3 separate regions of the Homo sapiens genome follow, and all the other regions are linked to region 1. The links are contacts of gene promoters, found by promoter capture Hi-C in blood cells and fetal thymus (Javierre and others, 2016). All regions are on one chromosome and are shown on one strand. The core of a region is centred on a gene start or on the middle of the fragment in contact, and the rest is flanking DNA. Distances in the headings are between cores, read along the strand shown.

Evidence for each region. Contacts are between HindIII fragments. The CHiCAGO score rates a contact against its expected background, and 5 or more counts as called.
Region 2: the fragment with the promoter of RAB12 here is called in contact with the fragment with the promoter of VAPA in region 1 in 1 of 17 cell types (total CD4 T cells); the score reaches 5.2 in total CD4 T cells.
Region 3: the fragment with the promoter of MTCL1 here is called in contact with the fragment with the promoter of VAPA in region 1 in 4 of 17 cell types (total CD8 T cells, non-activated CD4 T cells, activated CD4 T cells and 1 more); the score reaches 8.2 in total CD8 T cells.

What each region holds. Positions count from the first base shown.
Region 1 is chr18:9,911,958-9,915,942 of GRCh38, reverse strand. VAPA (VAMP associated protein A) reads right to left here and starts at 1,927. Exons shown (of 6, transcript NM_194434.3): 1 at 1,608-1,927. The coding sequence starts at 1,686. It overlaps LOC124904245 (a long non-coding RNA gene), which reads left to right and starts at 1,995. Exons shown (of 2, transcript XR_007066284.1): 1 at 1,995-2,231; 2 at 2,610-3,010. RefSeq lists an enhancer at 808-1,425 and silencers at 943-1,732, 1,943-1,992. The HindIII fragment of the contact is 3,402 bases long and covers 182-3,583 here.
Region 2 is chr18:8,607,766-8,611,750 of GRCh38, reverse strand. It overlaps RAB12 (RAB12, member RAS oncogene family), which reads right to left and starts at 2,314. Exons shown (of 6, transcript NM_001025300.3): 1 at 1,798-2,314. The coding sequence starts at 2,311. RefSeq lists an enhancer at 1,027-1,076 and silencers at 1,527-1,826, 2,257-2,486. The HindIII fragment of the contact is 24,115 bases long and covers 1-3,985 here.
Region 3 is chr18:8,703,524-8,707,508 of GRCh38, reverse strand. MTCL1 (microtubule crosslinking factor 1) reads right to left here and starts at 1,953. Exons shown (of 15, transcript NM_001395333.1): 1 at 796-1,953. The coding sequence starts at 1,848. GACAT2 (gastric cancer associated transcript 2) reads left to right here. Exons shown (of 2, transcript NR_120598.1): 1 at 1-439. RefSeq lists silencers at 1,729-1,788, 2,169-2,608. The HindIII fragment of the contact is 5,801 bases long and covers 1-3,985 here.

The sequences.
Region 1 (3,985 bases), core at 678-3,177:
TGAGTCAGGACTCTTCATAATTCCTCAAAGGTTTTCCCCCAGCTACAACTACGTAAAAATCACACAACTTACATAAACTTGCAATAAAATACATTCACTGCACCTTAAAACCAAATCCTTACCCAACAAGTAGCTCACTTACACTTCTATTCAAAGAAATTTGTAAACGCACTAAAAAGCTTGCAATGTAGTTATGCAATATTAATCTCATAATTCCAGAATATATTTTAAATTCCTAAACCTGAAGTTTTTCCTATGGAAAACAATGTAGTTGGCTTTCTCTTGGACTCAGCCTTACACAACAATAAAGGATTTAATTTTTTCTTTTAGCACTAGAATTGCTATACACCTCACAAAAATTGTTCTCATTCAACAATTGAAATACAAGACATAGACTTCCAAAACGGGACTCACTTTACACTTAACTAAAGATAGGAAGGAACCTACTTTCTATTAGATGTTCACACTCTTTCAGTATTCCTTAAAAACAAAGAAAAAAAATAAAAATCTGTACATTTTAACTCTCTTTCCTAAAGTACACTACATATTGACAAGGAAACCGACCAAAAGCCCCTGGGATTCTTCCAGGATCACCAAGTCAGACTAAAAAACTTATCACAGGCAGTACTACAAAAACCTACAAAGTTCCAGAGCTGGGTGACACCTTATCAGCCTTCTCAGGATCTGTCGGAAACCGCAAACGTAAAAGCAAAAAAGTCACACGCACTGAAGGTTTCTCAGCAGAGGAGCTCAACTAAAGGGCTAAATAAAAGCACGCGGGTGGCACACTGAAATGTCGTAGAAGGCAGGAAGCCCCGCTACTATGAACCTACAACTCTCCGTTTGCGGCTGACGCATCGCTCCTGCCCGCACGCACCTGGGTCCGTGCCAACAGCACCGGGCAGCCCTCGCCAGGCACCTCCAAGGACTCTCCACCTCCCCGGCGCGTCCTACACCTGACGGCCGAGTTCTAAACCTGGCGGAAAGGTGACAAGCGACGCCCTCCGCGGAACCCGAGGGCCGGCTGCAGCGAGCTCTCCCCGGGCCGGGGCAGGGGTCGGGGGGCGGCTCTCACTCCCAAGGGGTCCCGCGCCGTGCCCTAGCCTCCCCGCGCCGCTGACAGCCGGGAGCGGGCGACAGACGCAGCTTGCGCCACCTCCAGAGCCCACTCCCCGCCGCAGCCCAGAGCGCACGCCCTCGGGTGCCCAGCCGCCCACGCCCCGCCGAAGCACGCCGTCGGCCTCTGGGGCCAAGGACGCGGGCCCAGGCGGACCGCGGCGCGGGCGGGACCGGACGCCCAGGAGGCGCCCCCGCGGGACCGCAAGATGGCGGCGGCGGCGGCGCCAGGGCCGGGCTCCCCTCCGCCTCGCCCCGGCCGGCGCGCGCACCGCAGCGAGGGCGGGCGGGAGGGGATGAAGCGGGCCGGAGCAAGGGGCAGGCCGGCCGAGGTGGCGGCAAGAAAGCAGCCGGGAAAGGGAAGGCGCCGGGGCGTGGGGGAGGGGGCGCTCCCTCGGGCCAGGGCCGCGGACGTGCCCTCCGCGCCCCCCCGCCGACAGCCAGCGGTCCGCGCGCCCCACCCCACCCGGGGGTGTCCCCGTTCTGCCTACCTTTGAATTTGAGGTCTGTGGGCGGATCGAGGACCAGGATCTGCTCGTGCTTCGCCATGGCCCCTGAGGCGGACGCCATCGGAGAGACAGCGCAGAGCGGGGGCGCGCCCGCGGCGGCGGTTTGCTGACTGGGGGCGGGGGACGACGGCGGCGACGGCTCGGCCGAGCTCTAGGACGAGGCCAGGCTCGCGGCTCCCGAGCCCTAACGCCTGCCGCTGTGTCACCGGTTCGGTGGGCCACCCGCTGGGTCAGCAGCTCCGGGTCCCACAACTGACTCAACCCCACACCAGCCGCCACGGCCACGCGCACTTGCGAGCCTCGGCGACCCACGTGACGGCCTCTGCGTGCCTACGTGCGCGCCCCCGGCCGGGAGCTTCTAGCGCTTGTCCCGCCCTCCAGGCCGGCCTAGCGCGGCGCGGGGCTGCTGCGCCTGCGCGCTCGCGGCTTGCCGCGGCCCGGAGCGCAGCCCAGCTGTCAAGGGAACGGGTGTGGAAGGAGGCGGGGCAAAGGTCCGCGGGACCGACGCGATGCGCAGCGCAGGGCTGGAAGCGCAGTCCTCTGTCACCTTGAGCTCCGAGTACGGAACTAGAGAAACTGCTCTGGCAGCGCATCACACTCTTCCAAGTGGGAATGCCCAGTGGAAGGGACAAGTAGTAGTAGGGAAGCGCCCACTCACTACAACTCCCGGCATGCCCCCTGCGGGGCGGGGCCTTCGCCGAGGGCCTGGCCCTTTGCGGCCCTGCGCGGTGCTTGCTGGGAACTGTAGTAACGGCTGTTTGAGGGTGGAAAGGAGAGCTAGGTCTGTTGGAGGCAATGGGGTGGGGTTCGCGGACGCTAATTTTGGCTCTCAGAGCGCGTCTAGTTTGCGCTAAAAAAGAAAAAACTTGAAGACTGAAACGAGGCCCCAATGTTAGAAATATATTAATAAAATCTGCCCTGTGGAGAACAGGCGTGGGGGGATGTGTCCGTTTGCTCTAATTCTATCCAGTCCTCTGTTGGCAGGGCTGCATTCCCCGTGGTATCCAATTCAGCCTCTCCTGCTTCCTGAGTTCTCTCCAGTGATGCAAAATCAGATAAGGAAACACACCTCGTCTAGGAAGCAAGGGGAAATATGACAAAGCACACAGAAACTAGAAATAAAAGTCAAAAATCTACACCATCGAACCCAAATAATCTTCTTCAGTTTTAATGATGGACCCAAACCAAAACAGTTCTCACGTTCACATGTTAGAAACTAACTCCATCTGCATCACTTACGATAGGCTGTAGTAAACTGAACCAAATAAGAAAAATCCCAGCAGCAAACTTGCTGACAAAACTTTAGCCGATTGCCAGGGTAGTCCGGTACAGGAACGTCAAATGAAACCAATGTGCTGTAAATAAACCTTTATTGTATTTTGTGATACGGTTTGAATTTAAATCCCTAGGTAGCGCCACGAAACAAAAGACATATTGATGCTACTGCCATGGAGCAGCACAGTTTGTCTAGAAAATAAACGAGACGAAACAGCAGTCTAGAAGTAGGCACCAAATCCAAGTTTTCATGTGCGATCCAGGTATTAGGGTCCATCCAGGAACAGCCTGCTGGAATTGCTAGCCTGGCATTCACAGAAGATTGTGCCACCCACGAGGAATGTGTTTTCAGCCCTGAAATTCCTGGGAGTGAGAGGTGAAGCCAGCTGGATTTCTGGGTTGGGTGGGGACTTGGAGAACTTTTCTTACAAGAGGATTGTAAAATGCACCAATCAGCACTCTGTAGCTAGCTAGAGTTTTGTAAAATGCACCAATCAGTGCTCTGTAAAAACGCACCTATCAGCACTCTGTAGGTAGCTAGAGGTTTGTAAAATGGACCAATCAGCACTCTGTAAAATGGACCAATCAGCAGGGCATGGGCAGGGACAAATAAGCCAATAAAAACTGGCCACCCCAGCCTGCAGGGGCAGCCTGCTTGGGTCCTTTTCCACATTGTGGAAGCTTTGTTCTTTTGCTCTTCACAATAAATCTTGCTGCTGCTCAGTCTTTGGGTTTGTGCCATCATTTCTTTCTTTCTTTTTTTTTTTTTTTTTTTTTGAGAGGGAGTCTCGCTCTGTCCCCCAGGCTAGAGTGCAGTGGCGTGATCTCAGCTCACTGCAAGCTCCGCCTCCCAGGTTCACGCCATTCTCCTGCCTCAGCCACCTGAGTAGCTGGGACTACAGGCGCCTGTCTCCATGCCCAGCTAATTTTTTTATATTTTTAGTAGAGGTGGGGTTTCACCGTGTTAACCAGGATGGTCTCGATCTCCTGACCTCATGATTCACCCGCCTTGGCCTCCCAAAGTGCTGGGATTACAGGACTGACCTAGTGATCCACCCGCCTTGGCCTCCCAAAGTGTTGGGATT
Region 2 (3,985 bases), core at 1,065-3,564, 1.3 Mb after region 1:
CTCCTGGTTTCTTCCTTATTCCCAAGCATCCTCCGCAGCTCTTCCTTATTCCCAAACATCCTATGCAACTCTGCCAAACTGTTTTCGTGCCAATGCCTTACTAAGGAGTCTTTTGGTTCCAGGTGCCCATAGGATCGGGTCCATTCTCCTTAGCATGGCGGTCAAGGTCTCGCAGCATCCATTCCCAAGTCCCCTAAGGAACCCTCCCCAGAGGTGGGGGGCTGCTCCACTGCTGCCAGGCTTAGAAAATCCTTCTTCCTCTCTCCTCTTCTGCATTCTAAAGCACACCTTTGCTCATCCATCTCACCCTCCATCCACTCAAGCCCTCAGTTACCCACCTATGGGTACCTGATTTCTCTTCATCACACAGTGCAACTCTATTATCTCTCATTTTTATATACTGAAGTACGGAGCCATAAAATATTGACAATTCTAAACGGAATTTAACCCTACTTTATTTATGTCAGGTACTAAAATAACAGCCTAACCCTCATTTGATGGTTTAACAACTCCCTGTACTCTGCATGATCCAAGACTGGATATTTGAAACAGGTATAGTTATGCTACTCATTTTAATATAATGTCTCCAACGACAACATTTTAAAAACATATGGTACAGACATCACAAATATTTCCAAAATGATCTATTCCAAAAAAGCATTAAGGGAAGTAAGTTCTTGAAAACAAACCAAGAAAGACAGTACAAAAATTGGAGGTTTCACTTTCCAATAAGACACTTTAAATGTAGTACTGTTTTGTTACATGACAATTTCAAATCAAGTCATCTCAAAATCGTACTGACAGCCTTGGAACTACCACTGGTTATAACACTATTAATAAATAGAATTACATGAAATTATGCTTTTAATTCTATCAAATCTCCTGACTACTCAGTTTCTTGGACCGCCCCTGGGGAAATCTCTCACTTCCTATCACGGAAGTGACTGCCCTTTATTTTAAAGAACGGGGTTCTCCTAGTTTGGACATCTTTTAAGGGGTTTTCCATAGAAACAACTGCTACCCACATCCAACTGAGAAATCTCAATGTCAAGTCCTCTAAGCATGACTTAATTAAAAAAATTTCCCCTGCAGTTTCCATTTCAGATCCACGGCTGTTTTCCTCCTTGACCCTGGAGCGTTCCTGTACTTACTTCACTCCTGTCCCTCACCGAAAACAGCGGTACTGGAGGAATCAACCCCATGCCCGCCAGTCACCGGGTTGTTTGAGGTCATGGATAAATACAGCTGAAGCTCCTCTGCCCCGTACGTACGGCTAGCACGAGAAACTTACTGTAGTTTTAGTTTTAACATTCTCCATAGGTGACTTTAAACTTCATTTCTTGAAAATGGGTTCAAAATAAGAAAACTGCCCTGGTTGCGCAGGGATCACACCCGCAGCAGACGGCGCGCGCTGGCCTTGGCGGGCCGGGCGAGAGCGGCCTTAGGCGTTCACTCCCCTGCCTGCCTGCGCTCCACTCGAACCCAGCTTTTTCTTGGGCGAGTATGCTAAGGGCCGAAGTTTCCGTGGAGAGCCGCCCCCACAGGCCCCGGGGGCTGCCAGGACCTCTGAGGCAGGGCCGGGGGCCAAGGGCAGGTCTGCCCGGAGGCGGCACGAAAACCTCTGCCAGGCTTTGGGATTGGGATGCAGGGCGCTCCAAGGAGACCCCCGCCCCTAGTTTCACCGAGAGGCCCATCCCCGAAAGACTCCCAGGCTCGATGAGACTCGAAGCCCACGGGGCGAAGGGCACCTGCCCGGGCGCCAGGAGGCCCGGCCCAGGGTCGCCGTGGCGCCCTTACCCACGGTGGACTTGCAGGCCTCGCAGAAGGTGTCGTCGGTGAAGCGCTCCATCAGGCTGGTCTTGCCCACGCCGCGGGAGCCGATAATGATGACCTGCAACTTGAAGTCGGCCGGCCTGGGGGGCTGCTTCCTCCGGCGGCCCTGGCCGCCCGACAGCGCCGGGGAGCCCGCGCCCAGACCGCCGCCGCCCCCGGCCCGCCTCTGCAGCGCGGCGCCCGGATCCATACACGCATGCGGCTCCCGCTCGGCCCGCCGCCCGCCGCCGCCCGCCCCCCGGCTGCGCGCCCCGGGCCCCGGCGCCCCCTCGGCCTCCGCCGCGCGCGGGGGGTCGGCCCCGGGCTCGGCTTCCGCCCGCTGGAGCGGCCCCGGCGGCCCGTGGGCTCCGCGCTGCAACTGCGCCGCCGGCCGGCTCTCTGCGCCCGGGTCCCCTCCTCCTCCTCCTCCGCCGCTGCCGCCGCCGCCGCCGGGAGAGGAGGAAGGGAAGCAGCTACTCCGCAGTAGCGGCAGCAGCATCCCGGACGAGGAGGGGCAGGAAGCGCAGGCGCGGGCGGGGCGGCTGGCCGCGAGGGGCCGGAGGCGGGCGGGTGGGCGCCCCCTGCCGGCGGGAGGACCGCGCGCCCGGGCCTCGGTTGGGTACTGCGCGCGGAGCTTTCCCGCAACCCGCGCCGCTCTTTCCCTGCCTCTGCTCGCCTGCCCGCCCCCGCTTCCCTCCCTCTTCCGCCGGCTCTTTCATCTTTTCTTCCTCTTATCTCTTCCCTTTTCCCCCTTTTCACTCCTCCCTACTCGGCTTTCACTCTGACCCGCATTTATAGTTAACACAAGAAACTTAGTGTGGTTTTAGTCTTAAAATTCTCCGTAGGCAATTTTGAACTTCAGCATTCCGGTGCATCATGAAAATGGGTTCAAAATAAGAAAAAGAACCCTGGTTGACAGTGAAAACACTCCCATGCGCACAGTCCCCAAACACCATGCACATGTTTTCGCCCCCGCGCGCTCGGTGTAGCTGGAACGCTGGAAAGGCCCCGACCTGAGGCCGCGCCGCCGGGCCGCCTGCGCTGCGTTCGCGTCTACACCAGCGCTCTCTCACAAACACCAGCGGGTGCAAGCCCCCGCACCCTCTACCGGGCCGTGGCACTGCTCGGTCTCTCTCCGTCACGTCTGTCTCCCATTTTGCACGGAAACGCGCGAAATCAGTTATTTTTAACTCTGATCGCTGTCTCACTCAGAGTTCAGAAGTTTTTATGCTGTTTAATTTTTAAATTAAGTAAATGGCATACTCCTTTGGGGGAATAAGCGAGTTAAAACTCAAACAGTGCGAGAAGATTGAAACTTTAGGAATTATGGACTCGGGTCGTATGTTTTGCCATTTCTGTTTGGAAGGATTTAAGGATACAGAAAATCACTGCTGATTCCTTGCCAGAGATTTGTTTAGCAAATTCCTCAGCTTGAACTTGAGCATCTCAGAACACAGGGTTCTGAATATGATAGGGGCTGGCAACATTTGCCGAATGATCACGTTACCCACAAAATTTCAGCTGTGCTGTATTTAGAACTAGGTTTAGTAATGCACAGTACACGCATATGTTACACAGCAAACCTGATTTGTAAAAATCTAGCGTTGCCCACAGTGTAGATTGGAAGTTTACATCTATGAGAGCATTCTTAACTGTGCAGTCACTGTAGGGATCTTTATAATATGAATTCTGAGAATATGTAAAATATGATCCCTCTATATTATTTGAAACACAGATCCATCACTTACCATCACGGAATTTACTTTCTTTCTTTCCTTCTTTCTTTCTTTTTCTTTCATTTTGTTTTGTTTTGATTTTGAGACAGCCTTGCTCTGTTGCGCAGGCTGGAGTGCAGTGGTGCGATCACAGCTCACGGCAGCCTGGAACTCCTGGGCCCAAGTGATTTTCCTTGCTTAGCCTCCTGAGCCGCTGAGACCACAGGCACGTGCCACCACGCCTGGCTAATTTAAAAATTTTTTGTACAGTTGGGGTTTTGGTTTGTTAACCAGGCTAGTCAACAGTGTGAGACCCTGAACTGGCCTCAAGTGATCCTCCCACCTCAGCCTTCCAAAGTGCTGTGATTACAGGCATGAGCCACTGTGCTCCGCCGCAGAACATTTCTTAGCTGTGGGTTTCTCTTCTGTTCTATGAGAATGAGAGTAGTGGCCCCTCC
Region 3 (3,985 bases), core at 704-3,203, 1.2 Mb after region 1:
AAAGATGGAGCCGGATTAAGCACCCAGTGCTAAGGCGACTAAGACGCCACTGCCCGCAGGCCCTGCCGGAAAATACTCAGAGAGTGCAGCAGGCGCCGCGATTCCTTAGAAAGTGCTGGCGTGGCCTCTCCTGACACAGAAAGCCGGCTCCTGGATGCTTACAAAGGACTGGCCCGCGCAACACCGTTGCTCCTCAACCCGGGCCACACTCCAAGGACCTCTACTGAGCTTCAGCTTGCTCACCGAAAACGGCGCGGCCCCCTCTACCCGGGATGTCGGAGCCCAGGAGACCCTGAGAGCCCCCAGCTCTTTCCGTAATTGCAGGAGAAGGGGCAAGCGGGTCCGTAGCCGGGGGCCCTCCAGTGGCATTATCCTGAACCGCCACGCCCGCACGTGGCCCGGCTAGAGCTCCCTGGCGAAGGATCACCTGTTCCTACAGGTGAGGCTGGCACGTTCTGAGCGGGGATGGGGGCGTCCGCTGATGTCCCCAAAACGATTACAGCCTCCTCTGCCCCAACAGGTCAACAAAAGTAAAAGTATCAGCGAAGAGACGCAAGAGTTCTAGACGCGAGAAAAGAGAAGTGGGTTGCGAACTGGCGGGGTCCCACAGGTCTTGCTTCTCCTTCCAGAAGTTTGGGCTTAAGTTGCCAATGCCTGACAATGCGGGGGTAGGACCGTGGAGAGCAGGAGGGAGAAGGCGCTGGACAGGCCCGGGAAGGAGGGGTTGGCGGGTCCCCGCCGCAGCCAGGCCCTCCGGGGGCGCCCCGGGACACCTGCGGCCGAGGCGCGGCTCACCTTGAGATAGTCGTTCTCCGAGCGCAGCTCCTCCATCTCCCGCAGCAGCTCTTCTTCCTCCGCCGCTGGCACGAGCCGAGACTGCTCGCCCAGGCTGGGCTCCTTGGGGGTCCCGGGGACTGGTCGCTCCGGTGGCGAGCGCCCCCGGACATCCTCCGCCACGCCGGGCCCCGCGAAACCCCCCGAAACCCCGCTCGGGATGCTCCGGCCCCCGGGACAGGCGCCCGCGGCGAGGGGCGCGGCGAGGAGCGCTGGGGGCTCGGGGCTGCCCGGCGGCGCTCCTCGGGCTGCGGGGCTCGGCGTCGGCGCTCCTCGTGGGGGTTCACGGTCGCTGGAGCCCGTGCCGGATTCGGCGTCGCTGCTGGCGGCAGGGAGCAGGCGCTGCTCGTCGGACAGGGGTTCGGAGGGGCAGTCAGAGAGGTCGGAGCTGCTGTCCGTGTGGCTGATGCGCGAGCAGCGGGCCGGGGACCCGGCCACCGAGGTCACCGCGAGGGTCACGGCAGGGATCCGGGCGGCCGGGGTCGGGGGGCCGACGGTGCGGGCGGGTGGCGCCCGGGAGCCGCGCTTGGCTTTGCGGCCCTTGGCAGCGGCAGACGGCGGCTCGGCTCCGGGAGGCTTCCCAGCCCGGGACAGCGGCTCCGCGGGCGCCACGCGCGCCGCCCTCCTGCTTCCCAGGGCAGCCTTGGCACCGCCCGCCGCTCTGGCCCCGGCGCCCGGCGGGGGCTTGTCCTTCGCGCCCGGGACGCCGCCACTGCGCCGAGAGAGGCGGCCGGGCGCGGCCAGGGACCCCGGCGAGGGCGGCGCTTTGCCCGCGAGGTTGGGCGAGCGCGGGGCGGCGGGAGCCGGGGCTCGGCCCGAGGAGGGGACGGCCGGGCCGGGCGCGGCGGGCCGGGCGTGCAGGTCCTTGAGGAAGGGTCTGGCGGGCGAGGGCGCACGGTGCAGCCGCCGCCTTTCGGCCACCGGGTGGAGGTGGTGGTGGCGGTGGTGCTGGCCGGGCGGCTGCAGCTTCGCGTCCGGGGCACCTCCGCCCGCGGGGCCGTTCAGTGTCTCCATGGCCGGGTCCGCCGGCAGCAGCTCAGGCAGCAGATGCTCCGGACGACGACGGCGGCGGCGGCGGCGGCGGCGGCGTGCAGCCTCCCCGCGCGCTCTCTCATCACTGTCCCAGCCCCGCCCGGGCTGCGCCCCGCGCTCCCGCCGTCCCCGCCCCCCGCACCCCGGCCCCGAGGATTCCCGCGGGGCTCGCCGCCGCCGCGCTCGCCCCTCGCTGAGGTCACCGCGGATCGAGTTCTCCCGGCTCAGCAGCGCGGCGGCTCCCGGCCGCTCGCATCCCCGGACCTCGCGCTCCGGGCTCGCGGTCACCGGTGCCGCGGCGGCGCTGGCGGCGCGCGCCCGGCTCCCGCGTCCCGCTCCCCGCCCACCGCCGGCCCGCTGCTGCCCGTGCCCGCCCCCGCCGCTCCCGGCTGAGAGAAGCCGCACGCGCGCGCCCCACCTCCCCGCCGCCCAGCGCCCTCGCCCAGGCCCGTGCGCATGCCCCGCCTCCAGCCAGCCGGCGCCGTGCAGGGGAGGGGCGAGGGAAGGGGCGGGGGCTTGCGCTCCCCGGGGGGCGGGCGCCCGGCAGGGGCGGGACCTGCGCGCCCTTGGGAGCAGGCGCAGGCTGGATCCATGGGGCCTCGCTGCCCGGGGACCCTCCTTGCTTTTTGAGGCCCTAGAGACGCTGCCAGGAGCTAGGGAGGAAGGGAAGAGGCGGAGGTGAAGTGGTGGCAAGGGGCGGCGCCGGCCACTTGGGGAAGGCGTGTGCCGCGGCTGACAACACCCCTCTCATGCCTCTCCATCCACCGCCCGCCTCCCCGAGGCCAGTCACCTCCCTCGCTGTCCTCTCCAAGCTGTGCCCCTGGTCCCCGAGCTCCTTTAAGGATCGCTGGTACCCGACGCAGCTCTCGCGTCTAAACGGCACGGCGGGCGCTCCACAGTTGGCACCCCCGTGGCCTCGGGAGCTCAGGAGGAGCTGCTGCCCAAACAGGAGGAGCCCTCGCCAAACCTGGGGGTCAGAAAGGGAACTCACATTTATAGTTCCGGCTGCGAGCCAGGCCTGCTGGCCACTTACTGAGCAGTGTTTTATTTAAGCCTCACCACAGTCCCAGATTGGAATTGCTGTCTTCGGTGAAGACTAGGGCACCGGCGCTGGGAGGTGAAGTCACTTGCCTGCGATGCCTCACCCAGTCCCTAGCTGAGCGGGTTTAAACCCAGGTCTTCAGGATTCCGAGTCCTGCAGGCTTTCCGCTCAGAGCCCGGAGCCCGGCCACCGGTTCTACCACTTGAGTCTCCCATGCGCAAGGCACTAGACCTTTCTGAGCCCCAGTTCCCTCGCCTGTATCATTAAAACGTACTGCCACCTGAGCATGTGTGAAGATTTAGCAAATACCAGAACACACCGTGCAAACTGTAAAGTACAGTTCACATACCATTGGGTGCAGTTTATGTCCCAGGCGTTGGATGTTGGCCAGTGCCCATAGGAATAGGGGCCAGCCTGTCCTCCAGCCCTGGCGTTGCAGGAGGCAGAGGGTCAGGTAATAATTACAAGGAGGAGGGCGGGAGCATAACCCTGCCTGGTGAGGCTCGCATTTTCCTGGAAGGACGGGTTGGTCTCTCAGCTGAGGGCCCAGGACACAGTAGAGCCTGCAGAGAGCAGGGCCCCTGGGCGGGGAGGCAGGTAGGTTAGGGATTAGAGGGGAGACTGGAGGGTGTGTGGCACCAAATATCCTACCAAGGCCGTTGGGCATTATCCTAGAGGCGGTAGCCACGGGGTATTCTGAGCAAGATGATCTGATGTGCTCAAAAAGACCCCGGGGGCAGCAACCTGGAGGAGAGGGAGGTGGGCCACGGGAGCTGCGAGCGGCTGTGGCAGTATGCGCGGTGAGGGGGCCTTGGGAGCAGGGACAGAGAAGAGGGGGCCGACTCGCAAAAATAGGAGGAAAAAATCGACTCCAAAGTCTGTGATCTTAACCACAGATTTACCCTACTTAGCCATCTCCTTCAAAAAATGCAGGATGAACCCTTTTGTTGTAATCCCTACGTCAGGAGAGCCCTGCCCCGAAGTCGTCCTGCCTCGCCCTGGCTGAGCTCTGGGGGCACTGAGACCTCGCCTGCTCTGCTGCTGTTGTGGTCTTTGTGAGTCGTTTTTCTGGGAATG